2 separate regions of the Homo sapiens genome follow, and region 1 is linked to region 2. The links are contacts of gene promoters, found by promoter capture Hi-C in human tissues and cell types (Jung and others, 2019). All regions are on one chromosome and are shown on one strand. The core of a region is centred on a gene start or on the middle of the fragment in contact, and the rest is flanking DNA. Distances in the headings are between cores, read along the strand shown. Region 1 has its middle 43 kb from the start of GRIA1. Region 2 holds the start of GRIA1 (glutamate ionotropic receptor AMPA type subunit 1).

Region 1 (6,326 bases), core at 3,625-6,124, 45 kb after region 2:
AGCCATCACAGCTGATATCTCCTGGTGCTATCCCCAACCTGCCACTCTTAACTCTTGAAGTAAATAAATAATCTTTGCTGGCAGGACTATGCCAAATCTCCTTAAGCACTCTCTAATCAGATATCCTGAGTCGTCCCAATTCTTAGACCTTTTATACCTGTTTTTCTCCTTCTGTTATTCCATTTAGTTTTTCAATTCATACAAAACCGTATCCAGGCCATCATCAATCATTCTATACGACAAATGTTTCTTCTAACATCCCCACAATATCACCCCTTACCACAAGACCTCCCTTCAGCTTAATCTCTCCCACTCTAGGTTCCCACGTCGCCCCTAATCCCGCTTGAAGCAGCCCTGAGAAACATCGCCCATTCTCTCTCCATACCACCCACCAAAAATTTTCGCCGCCCCAACAGTTCAACACTATTTTATTTTTCTTATTAATATAAGAAGGCAGGAATGTCAGGCCTCTGAGCCCAAGCCAAGCCATCGCATCCCCTGTGACTTGCACGTATATGCCCAGATGGCCTGAAGTAACTGAAGAATCACAAAAGAAGTGAATATGCCCTGCCCCACCTTAACTGATGGCATTCCACCACAAAAGAAGTCTAAATGGCCGGTCCTTGCCTTAACTGATGACATTACCTTGTGAAAGTCCTTTTCCTGGCTCATCCTGGCTCAAAAAGCACCCCCACTGAGCACCTTGCGACCCCCACTCCTGCCCACCAGAGAACAAACCCCCTTTGACTGTAATTTTCCTTTACCTACCCAAATCCTGTAAAACGGCCCCACCCTTATCTCCCTTCGCTGACTTTCTTTTTGGACTCAGCCCGCCTGCACCCAGGTGAAATAAACAGCCATGTTGCTCACACATAGCCTGTTTGGTGGTCTCTTCACACAGACGCGCATGAAAGGTACTGATAGCCTGCAGCATATGGCTAAAAATGACTATAAAGTCTGTCCTTACTGAGGGGATCATGATGACATCTATGGGTGAAAGCAGGAAAGGTAAGCCATCTCTTTTCCAATGTGGATCTCTGCAATCTGCACCCACCCAGGTTCTTCCCTTCTAACCTGCCTCTCTCCACAGCTGGGGCTATTTGACTTCCAGTTTCCTCCTCTGTAAAAGGGTGACAATAGTTCCTGTAGCATAGAATAATTGTGAAGTGCAAGAGAGCTAATGTGTATAAAGTGTTAACACACACACCTGGCCTATACTAAGGGCCCAATATTTGGTAGTTATCAAGTGTTTCCACAGCTTTACAAGATGAGATTTATTCCCATCTTTCAGGTAATTTAAAGATATTTAAAAAGGGTTCCAATTGACAATCACAACACCATACAGCTGTGAGTTACCAAATGAAGGTTTGTATCTAGATCTTTTCTGGCTCTGAACTCATGCCTTTTCTGCTATATCATTCTGCCTTCTAGTAACTGAAATCTGACTATTTAGATTATAGCCTTGGACCTAGGATCGAGTCACTTGCCTGTGATTTCTTGGATTATATGTCTGAATTCAGAAGCTTATCTGTTGCTGGAGCTCTCATTACTATTGATCCCTCTCCCCCAACTCCTCATATCTAAGCCTTCAGGGTTGACTTATGGGCTGGCCTAGGATCTGATGTCTGTCCCAATGACCTCAGGTACCCAACTCCTGCAAACAGACCTATCTTTCCAGCTGCTATGCCAGTCAGCAAATCTAGCTTACTCAGTCAGTGATTTTTTTTTTTTTATGGAGCCCTAACTATGTGCCAGGCATTATTCTATGCAAAAACAGTGAGCAAATGGTTACAGCCCATGCCCTAAATCTAATGTGAACAAAGTCACACAAATATCTAGCTATGAGCTTCGACAATCAATACAAAGGAAAAGTACAGGGTATAACAAGGGGATCTGACCCAGTTTGGGGTGTTAGTTTTTGAACCTCTTTCAAACCACATCTCTTTATTAGTATTTTGGGGATAAGAAAAGTTGTCACCTCATGCTGGTGTTATAAGGATTAAATGATGTGATTTTAAAGCACTAAGCACAGTGACTGGCACAAAGAACATTCACAAATGTTGCAATGGCTGCCAGTATTATGATTTTTATTATTCCATCTTTTATAGAATAAGCATTTATCTTGAGAACCAAAGAAGGTAGAGACTTTGGTCAGGAATTTCTCAGTTCTAACTTGCCTCTCTTTCCCTCTCCAGCTATAGTTAATTGGGCCGTGCATGGCTAAATCTCAATATATAAAATATGATACATTAACATCTAGTTAAAGAGCCAACTGAGGAAGTTTTTCAGTTGCTAGGAAGGTCATAGCTGACAGCAAAACTTGTCTCTGAACTCCCCATCTGAGGTTCTATTACACTACACATCTTGTTATACTTTCTCATTTTAGGATGATATCCCAATAAAAAACAAATTTTCACAAGTTGATAAAATAGCCTAACATGTAACAAACTAGACTCTAAATATGTAACAGCTTTAGGAATTTCTGTTTTTGCTACTTTTTTTTTGTTACATAACCAAAGGCTCAAGCGGCCCAGACTGTAATCAGCAACCCACGATATCCTTGATTTCATCAGTTGTTTGAAACCACAAGGTCCTCTCACCTGAATTTTCTCAGTAGGAATCCTATCGGGAAAGTCAATGACAGGTTGAGATGATTGGGCTCTGCAGATCTAAAATGCAATTTGATGCTTGTTTTTAATTCCTAGTATCAAAACCAAGCAGATCAGAAAACAAATGTGAAATGAGAAAGATAAAAGGATGCAGATTAAAAAGAGGGGGCCGGGACAGGAGGAGCTTGGAGCGGTAGCAATTGCCACAATTCAAAACGGCTGGCAGAGATACCATCTGCGGTGGTGGTAGCAGCGTTTCCCAGATTCCTTTGCAAACTTACCAGATAAACATACACGTGGGCCTCGCCTGAAGTGACGGATCATGGACTCTCTAATAGGCAAAAGAATCAAAGCTTTCAATGAGACTTGCTTATTCAAAGGGAAGGAGTATCAATTTTTATTCCTTGCAGCAGCCTGAGATCCCATTCTTCTTTATCATCTCTGTACTTAGGGAGGATGAATAAGACATCCAACTAAATGCAAACTGTCACACTGTACACTGTGCGAGCTCCTTGCCTGCTACTGGTGTCTACCAGGTGTTATTAAAATCTGCAGCCTACTCTGCCTCAAGTCTTGCTGTTGTTCCATAGATGCTCAAGTAGTTTTGTACCCTAAACAGAGCAAACATGGCTTTGTCAGTGGATTCTTTACTGTTTGTTCATTAGCTTGTTCGTTCATTCCTTCATTCACCTAGCTGTTGAGCGTCTACTTTTGCCAGGCACAATTTTTAGCACAGAGAAGTATAGAATACAAGAGACAAAGCCATTGCTCCATTGCCCTCATGGAGCTTACATTTTATTGGTCTTGGACCATTTATGAATCTTACATTTATTGAACACCTTTTATCTGCTAGGATTTATACCAGCTGCTGGGAGAACAAAAATGAGTGAGAACATGTACCCTGCCATCTAGTGATACCAAAAACTCAAGCAGAAAATTGTATTAGTAAGTGGCAGGGACAGTATTAGATAGAGGTCTAAGAGAGGATAATTAAATTAGAATATGTATAAAAAATATATATATAAAATAAAGCTTCTCAAAAGGACTTGGATTCATTTTTCTGTTTTTAGTTATTTATTCATGCAATAAATAGTTGAATACCTCAAAATGCTTAGAAGAGTAACAGGCACACAAAAAACGTAGATAAATGTTAGTCCTTGCTGTTATCCATATTATCTTTAGCCAGGCATGGTATTAGGCACATGGTAATATAAGGAAGCTTAAGGCAGCTTAACCTATAAGGAAAATGAGACCTGGAAAATTAAGTAACTTTTTCAAGCTGGAAGTAGAATGCAAATCTCCAGACACCTAGTCTGGTTCCTTTCCAATACGATGCTGTTTCACATACTACGAACATAGAAGTGGAATTCATTGTAGAGGTCTCTATTTTTAAAAATGAATAATGAGTTTTTAACACACTTTTTGTAGACAGGCTCAGGGAAAAAATGTGCCTGAATTCATCCTTTCTCAGCTGTATCAGACCCAGAAAATTCTCCTGGAGTAATGCTCAGGGCGAGAAAGCTTAGGATTGTGTCACCATCTGTTCTAAGTAAATATCACCACTGGCCTTGATTTAGCATTTTCTTTTCCTGGGATCTCCATGTTCGGGTTTAGAGAAGGATACCAGGACACAGGGCAGTCAGCCAAGGTCAACTGGGGAAGAGCTAAAGAAAAAAATCAATCCCATCCACAGTCTCTCATGAAACCACAGAGCCTGTTGAACACACAGGCACTTGGGTTTGGAAAGACCCTAGAGAACACAATTCCTCAATTCCTGCTGCAGAGAAATACAGTTTGGATATTTAAATCCAGGCATCTCTTGCCCGTGGGCTATGTTTCCAAAGGCAAATATTGTCGAAGGAATCATTTCGTCATGCTGTGCCGTGGGTGGCAGCAGGCTGAGGGCACTGGGAACAGAGCCAAGACTGGGGAATATAGCACAAGGGAGACGTGGGTTGTAGGGTGTGGAGGAGTGATGGGGTCAGAAGCCAGGCAGTTAAGTCACAAATGTTACAGGGTAGAGCAATGTAGGATGGCCAGAGCTCATGCAAATGTGAACCCACCGGAAGTGAAGTCTGCAAAGTTTGGTGGCGCTAGAGAACCCAGAAACTGAGCTACACCAAGCAAACAGCTACATGTTGCCAGCAGCAAGAAAAGGATCATAACATGGAGATGATTTCTGATTCAATCTCACCTGCCTTCCATCGCTTTTTGTTTTGTTGAAAGCCAATTGTAAGCAAGCTGGCCAAAAGCCTCTAGGATGTGACCTTTTAGTTGTCACTGGGTTACGTTTTCACGCAGAGGTGGGGCACAGAGAGAACTCTGGCTGCAAGCTTACTTACGATGTTCAGCCTTGATGAAAAACTCACAAGGAATAAGCTCTTAGTAAGAAATGGAAAAAGAGCATTTATTCATTCAAGTATTTGTTCAGTACCTACTATGTGCCAAACACTGTTCAGTACTGAAAATAACACTGGCAGAGAAAGGCAGTCATACATAGTCTCTGCCCTCTCATAGTTTACAAACTGGTTTGGGAGAACAGATGAAAATCAAAGAAGTGCAAAGAGATAGAGAAAGAGAAAGATTGCTGCAGAATGTGCTCCAAAAGAGAAGTACCCAGTGCTGTCAACAGAAAATGAACTATTCAAGGTGGTCAAGGAAAGCCTTCTGAGGAAGTGACAATTTGAAGTTTGCAGAAAGAAACTAGGATGAGGTAGGGAAGAAGGACACCCTAGTTCTTCCGCTAATGGGCTTTGGCAGGAGGGGTATGGTGAGAATAAATGCCTAGTTTATTTCAAAATTTAAGTTTTATGGTTAACTAATCAATTTATAAAGCAGTTTACATCTGGCAGTAGAACCCACTGAACCTACTGAATTTTCTCAGTAGAAATCCTATCGGGAAAGTCAATGGCAGGCTGAGATGCTAGATGATGTATGCTAGATGTGCAGAGCCCAAGTTTAGAAGTTACAGATTCTGTCCTCAAGAAGACACATTGAAAAGAGGTGTAAATTTACCTAAAGTTTCTATTGAATTCTTCCTCTGTGCTAGAATCTTTACATTTGCTATTTAACATCTAGAGGTAGCTACTTTTTCCCCATTCAACAGATGGGAAACTGAGGTTCAGATATATAACTCACAGACCTCAGCCTGCTAGCTACATATCTGTCTGATTGCCAAGCTCATGCACTTTTCATGTAACAAAATGCCTCTTATCAGAACCCTCTATGAAAACTTACCAGAAAGATTTTGGGTGCCAACTGCTTTTTCCCCTTCAGCAGAGCTCTATTTAGATCTGAACTATGGATGTGTGTAACTGTGCAACTGCACATATATACAGTTTAAAACGTTCACCTTTTAGTAGTATACACTAAAGGTATACATAAACTCACTCTCTCTCTCTCTGTCTCTCTGTCTCTGTCTCTCTCTCTCTCTCTCTCTCTCTCTCTCTCTCTCAGGGTACTAATATGCAAAAGGTCCAGATATAAAAAGGGGCCCTCAGTCCTTAGCCATAGGAACATAAATTCAATCTTTCTTCATTGGCTCAGACTGCCCTTCAGGATCTTTAAAATGTGCAGGTCATCATTATGCACATCAGTTATCACAGTATGGTAACTGGCTTGATGTGCTGCTTAATGAAGTGTTACCAAGTCATAAAATGCCAATATTTAAAAACCACCAAGGTCTTTAATTATCATTTCAATCTAGGGTTTGTCAAA
Region 2 (6,525 bases), core at 2,051-4,550:
AAGCAGCATGTTCCTGTGACTGCTGGTTTGGAAATAATCCCCCTATGAGAAAAGAAAATGCAACATGGTATATGGGCTAGAGACAGGTTTTAGTTCCTCACGACTCACTCCAGATGAGTCCTTTTCTTCTCCCCATGCCAAACTCACTAGCTGTAGCCTTGAGTGGTAGAGATGAGAGTTCAAATAGGCTTAACTGGACACTGAAACTTAAACTCCTACAGATGAGCTTTTTTGTGACATGGGCCTCTAATATCTATTACTTTGCTCAAACATTTGATTGTGTACCCCTCAACTCAGCTAAAGTCAGAGAAAACAGGAGACTTGTGCCATTTCTCTTCTTCCTCCCTTGTGCAAACCACCTAGGAGCTGCTATTCTCTTATATAAACATACACATAAGCCCCCTCACCCTCTAGTCATGTCTAATTTTTCTTACATCAGCCTCATCTCTCACCAGAGAGCCTTACGGGAAGTAGGTACTAATCAGTGCTGCAGGGTGATTGAAATCTAGCTCTGGGACCCTGTGGGCTTCTCCACTACTATAACTGTTTACATGGACAGTTTTTAGTCTTTGGCCTAGCAAGACCTGCATGCAATTTAACTATTCTATTGCCCCTAAGGTTTATTATTCATTTTCTCTAAAAACTCTTGCTTTTCTGCAAACAATGTTTTGCTTACTCTTTCACCACACATGATCCCAGTTACCTAGGAATGACTTGTTACATAAGGGATTGCCATTGTGTGTTTGCATGGTGGAACCTTGTGCTTCAAAGATGTGGGATCTTAGGCATCTCAAGAGGATACAAACATTCTATTCTAGTAAAAGGTATAGTAAAGGTGCCTGATGGGATGCCTGTTCCGAGAAACAAGAGTCCATGGCTTACCTTTGTATTTACTGTCAACATGTAAATCAATTACATTTCTGTGAATTAAAATCAGCCATTTCTAGAGACTGAACTATAATGATGTTTACATAGAAGTTTATCTCAAATCTGACAGTAATCACAGTCCAAACATAATGCACTTCTAACTTCTTGTAGAGTGGGTGTCTGTTTTTAAGAACCAATAAATGGATTGCAAGCCTTTTGTTACAGATCACACAAATAGAATCAAGTACTACCTGATGGCAGTGATATTTTCAGCATTTTGTTCTACAATTTAATGCTTCAATCTCTTTTTTTTTTGAAAACAGTAGCAATGGCTTTATCAGTTGAACAACCAAGTTAGGGCTAAATATAATTTTAAAAATATGCAGAGATACATGAGAAAACATAGCACATACATGAAACATCCTCATGCATTTATACCATTTACTATATACACAAATATACTAGACAAACACTTCCAAGCCACAAAGGATAGGTAGTATATAAGCACAAATGTAAACAATGCCACATGTAAGAGCCAGTGATTTCCACATGTACAAGTGCTCCCATTTTAAAGAATGAAAACAAAAAAAATTCTTGATTATGATGCTCCCCCTTCCCCCCAGATGACCACACCCCAAACACTTCCCTGTCCCCTTTCTCCTCCTCTGCAATGAATGAAAGAGAAAGGATGGGAGGTTGAGGAGTAGAAGGCTACGGGCTGGGCTACAAGGGAAGTGTCTCCCCTGAAGGCAGGAAGTTTTGCGTGTTAGGCACTAACACACAGATACGTACACACTTCAGGATGTAGCTTAACAGGTGTCAGGAAACAAAGCAAGTTACTCCATGGCCACTCCAAGCCGCCAGCTAGCTGGAGAGGCTGAAAGAGATGGGTACTGCAGCACATGTATGCCCGACAAAATATCAATTGCACCACATCCCCCCTCAAACACACACTCACAAAAGAGCACAAACTCCCAGCAATGCGAACTTTCCCTAGTGGAGCTATCTCCCTACCAGGGGAGAGAGACTAGAAACCAAACCAACGAAGATGCTTCCAAACACAGCAGCTTGCTTCATTCCGGGACACAAACGACACTGACATGCTGGTCACACGGAAGCCCCAAGCCCTTGTGGACATGCTTTGTGATTGGTGTTATTGCTTCTGTTTGTTTTGCTTTCCCTCATGATTATCAGGAGTAGCAATATCTGTCAGTCCCCTCAGAAATACAGGGAGGGTGGCGGGGCCTTTGAGAAGTGTAACAACTAAGAAGGGGAAATGGGGAACAAAAAAAGCATGCAGCATGTTGAAACCTGCCTCCAAGTTGAGAGGATGGAGCCCAGTAACAAGGATAATGGAGAGCCAACAGGAGGAGAAAGGAGCATGTGTACGTGTGTGTGTTTGTGTGTGTAAAAGGTAGACCTCTGTGGATAGGAAATCTAAGAGGAGGGGGCAAGGAAGGAACGGAGAAAAGGCAGGCGAGGAAGTTCCAGGATCGGGGGAGTGGAGACCACCAGCGCAGCATGGCAGACAGCAAAGAGAAGGCAGCTGGAGGAGTCCAGAACAGGAGAGGGAGCCTACCCGCCTTGGAGTGGGGGCCTTCTGGCATTATTTCAGTGGCTGCAATATACCCAGCACCCCTCACTCCTTCTTCTCGAGGGTCTCTTTTCTGTCCCCCAGCAGAGAAAGCACTGCCTCCTTCAATTACATATATATGTGCATATGTAATATATAATCACACACGTGAAAACACACACACCATACATACTTACATTAAAAATGGAATCAAGCACCATCTACCAAGCAATAGAGTTAACTCCTTAAACACCCACCACCCTTTCCAGCCTGATTTTTTTTTTCCTCCAAAGCGATGGTTCCTCCATTTCACATGCTCTTGCCTGGAGTGCGAGTAGGGTATGTGTGCGTGTGTGAACACTTCCCCTCTGCCCCTCATCCGATCAGGAGAAGCCCCCTCCTCTGGCTGTAAGCCCAAGTCTCCCTTCTGTTACCGCAGCACAGCTTTAGGGAGCCAAGCAAAACAGTCAGTACCGGGGAGGGGGTACACAACCCCTATCCCCAAAAAAATCCCTGGCCAGACCCAGAAAGTCCCTCCCCAGGCTGCCCCCTCACTCACCGATCTGGATATTGTTGGGGAAATTGGCACCTACTACCGCGCCTAGGAAACCGGTGCAGAAGAAGGCAAAAATGTGCTGCATATTCCTTTTTGCATTGGCGAAAAAGAAGCCCAGGTCCAATCATAGATTTGGTGTTTCCCCCCCTTTCCCTTTATTCTTCTCGCTGTTCTGCCTGTTCTTTTCCTCCTGCAGTTCCTTCCTTGCTTGCTTGCTTCCTTCCTTTCGTGAGGTTTGTCTGTTTCCCTTGGAATCCGAACACTTAAACTGCAGCGTTAACACCAACTGACAGCCAGATTAACTGAGCACGGGAAAAGAAGCCCGTCCTCATGCTAGCTGGAGCGCTGGCTCCCCCACTCCCTCTCCTCTCCCCTCGCAGCCTGCCTCTCTCTCCCTCCCTTGCTCTCTCTCGCTCTCCCCCTCACACTCACACAGGCAGCAAGCTCTATGCTAATACCCACCGAGCTAGCTTGGAGTTCCACAGCCGACCTCCCTACCTGTTCCCCCTTCCTCCCATCCTCACCTTATCCTCCTTTCTGTGTGTGCAGAAAGGTGGAGGTGGGGGTGTGTGACACGTGGCACTTGGTCCTGAAAGGGGCAACCCCACAGTCCTCTTTACCCTCCCCTGCCTTTCTGAGCTCGGTCTGCCCGCTCCCCCAGCCCCCAGGCTGAAGCTGCTGGGAATGTGGGTTCAGCTGTAAGTCAGTAGGTGGCAGGGGGTCCCCACAATAGTCCTCAATCCACCAGCTGCTTGATCTAGGTCACTTTTTCTAGGAGTGCATGGGCTGCGCTGGATATATCTCCTGCACTCCACTGGCCCAATTATTCCTACAACTAATTCCTGAGGGAAAGACCCTAGAAATCCCTCCTAGGAAATTTAAAGGAAAAAAAAAAAAAAGCTTTCTCTCTCCTAATGGAAGGAATGACAGATAGACAAACAAGGGAGGATCTGGAGTGACTGGCAGGTATTTTGACCAGGTATTTGACAGTCCCTGTCTACCTTTACAAGTGAAACGGTGGTCTCTTTTCAATCCTAGGCATTTAAAATGGGCCCCCTTCTCTCTTTCCCTGCATTCCACAGGAGTCTATAGCATCAGAATCGTGTGGGTGTACAATAAAGACTAAGGATACTTACACAGAGCAATTACATGAGTCATTTTGCAGGGATTCTAGTGAGAGGATTCAAGCTTCTTTCAGGTCTTTCTGGATGCTGGTCATGTCTGGTGTAAGCTGGAACTTCATAGACTCTCCTAGACCAGGGCTTCTGCTGAAATAACCTGTAGAGAGATCAGCTGTGTTCAGGATAGTAGTGTTAAATGCAAAGCAGCAGCCACTAGCCGCCACAGAATACAGTTTTTGAAGGAACTTTACAGATTTTTATCCATCTATCTTCACTCCAAACCTGTAAAGTGGCCATGAGCCCTGTTTTACAGATGAAAAAGATAAGACTTCTGGGATTAAGTCATAAAGACACAGACCTACTAAGATGTACAGTACAACCTACAAACTTGAGTGCTTTGGCCGTTACCAGTTGACTTACTGCCCTGGCCAGGACTCCTGTCCAACAGGAGATGATCCAGGAAAAGGAAAGTCAACTTTGTCTTTAGTAAGAAAGAAATAATAGACTTTGGACTCCATTTTGCTTTGCCATATGAATAGGCCATTTTATCCACAGACTCTTCACTTCCCTCACCAGGACTGTATATCATGTGGACTTGAGTGACAGCTACAAGGACTGGGATTTGTAAAAAATATCTGACCATGTACAATGAAGCCCCAAAATAGGAACAACTTGGAGGTCAAATGCTTTGTGATTTCCTATGCACTTTCACATATATTAATTAATTAGCTAAAATAATTTTTAAGGCTAATGTTTATTCACTATTTTGAATGTGCCAGGTACCATGCTAAGAAATGCACCTGCATCATTTATTTGTACAATACCTGTGTAGGTAGCCTCATGCCCATTTTATAGATGAAGAAACAGAGGTCTAAAAACTCACCCCAAGTTTTCACTGCTAATGAAAGAGATTGGGCATTTAAACACAGTAAATGCCACCATCAGGCCCCAGCTCTTAACTCTTAGGCTCTAATAACAGCAAGCACTGGGTAGGAACCTTCTAAAGGAAGAATAAGCATCAGCATAGGAAGATGAGAGAACAGAATCAGGAAAGATCACTTCTAAGGTCTCTGCCAACATTAAGAGTCTCTGATTTAATGATTCCATCTTTTAATTTCTCCATTTTCAGTTTTTGTATCTTACTACTTTGAATAGTACCTGGGGATCTTTTAGGTTCCCTAAGCTTTGTGCCTGGTAATAATAATAATTAGGCTGTCATTAAAGGCTTCACACCTTGCAATCACCTTTTAGAGGAAGCTCTTTAGACCCTTTACAAGCAAAACCTCAATGTCCCCCTGCATTAGGTAAGATTTGTTTTGCATACTTTGTAGGGAGGGGACTTTTAAGGGAGTCAAAAAGATGAATTTTCCATGGTCATTATAAATCATATAGTCAAGCAGATCTTCCTAAAACAGAGGTCTACGTCATTGCCCTGCTCAAGTATGGTCAATAGCTCCCCTTGGTCTATTAAATACATAGTTGTTCACTGATTAAATATAGAACTTACATATTTCAAGTGTAGGCATCTAGGTCAAACTACATTAGGTTCAATGTTTATTCCATGTTTCTTTATAATTCTCTTCATTTCAAATGTTGGTGGGGAACCTATTCTGTATCTCACAGGGTGCCAGGTGCTGGGCAATATGAAGAGGAATCAGACACAGTCTCTGCCTCAAGGCAGGTGAATGTGGCAGAAGAAGAAGACAGACGAACCCGGACAACTGTCACCCAGAAAGACCATGACAAGTGCTCTAAAAGATGTAAACACAGCAGCGGGGGAGCAAAGAAGGATGCAATCAGTGTGTCTGTCTGTGGGGATCCAGCAAGGCTTCAAAAGAACTGAGCCGTGAAGGATGAGGAGATTATAGGCAGTAACTGAGGACTGGGAAGGACATGCAAACCAAGGAAAGAGCCCCAGCAAAGGCTGGGGGCAGGAAAGAATGCCACGTGCTCTGTTAGCCTGGAGCCGGCAGTGCATAACTGGGAAGAGTGTACTGGGGAACTTGGAACTTAGAGGAAGTCAGTGTCAGGATTTGGAACCCACTGAATTCCTGGTGGACCATGATGAGCCATGGGGGCATTTTTAGTATGCTAGTTACAATAGCGGGCATGTGCATGAGAAAGAAAAGATTGACCACTGGTAGAAGGTGATTTTCTCATTTCCTCATCCTCAAAGGTTAGAACTACCTACCAAACAGCTTCATTTCCCTAAATAACTTATTTGACGTCATCCTTTATTAGCTCATCATGCTGTCTCTCTTTAGAGTCCCCAGTCCTATTTGCCATTCCCAAAGTGGCAAAGTCTTCAAAGTGGCTACATGATTAGCTTAAGACAGTGGTTCTCAACTGACAGCAATTTTCTCCCCCAGGGGATATTTGGCAAAAATGTCCAGAGATGTTTTTTGTTC

The links. The method cuts DNA at HindIII sites, captures the fragments that hold promoters and counts their contacts. A contact is called where the count stands out against the background at its distance.
Region 1: a fragment that was not itself captured here is called in contact with the fragment with the promoter of GRIA1 in region 2 in 3 of the 25 tissues and cell types used here (aorta, dorsolateral prefrontal cortex and hippocampus).

What each region holds. Positions count from the first base shown.
Region 1 is chr5:153,444,272-153,450,597 of GRCh38, reverse strand. No RefSeq gene overlaps it. Among named protein-coding and RNA genes, the nearest start is that of GRIA1, 43 kb to the left of the region's middle. RefSeq lists an enhancer at 15-875. The HindIII fragment of the contact is 3,143 bases long and covers 3,303-6,326 here.
Region 2 is chr5:153,487,445-153,493,969 of GRCh38, reverse strand. It overlaps GRIA1 (glutamate ionotropic receptor AMPA type subunit 1), which reads right to left and starts at 3,300. Exons shown (of 16, transcript NM_000827.4): 1 at 3,000-3,300; 2 at 1-42. The coding sequence starts at 3,081. The HindIII fragment of the contact is 6,455 bases long and covers 319-6,525 here.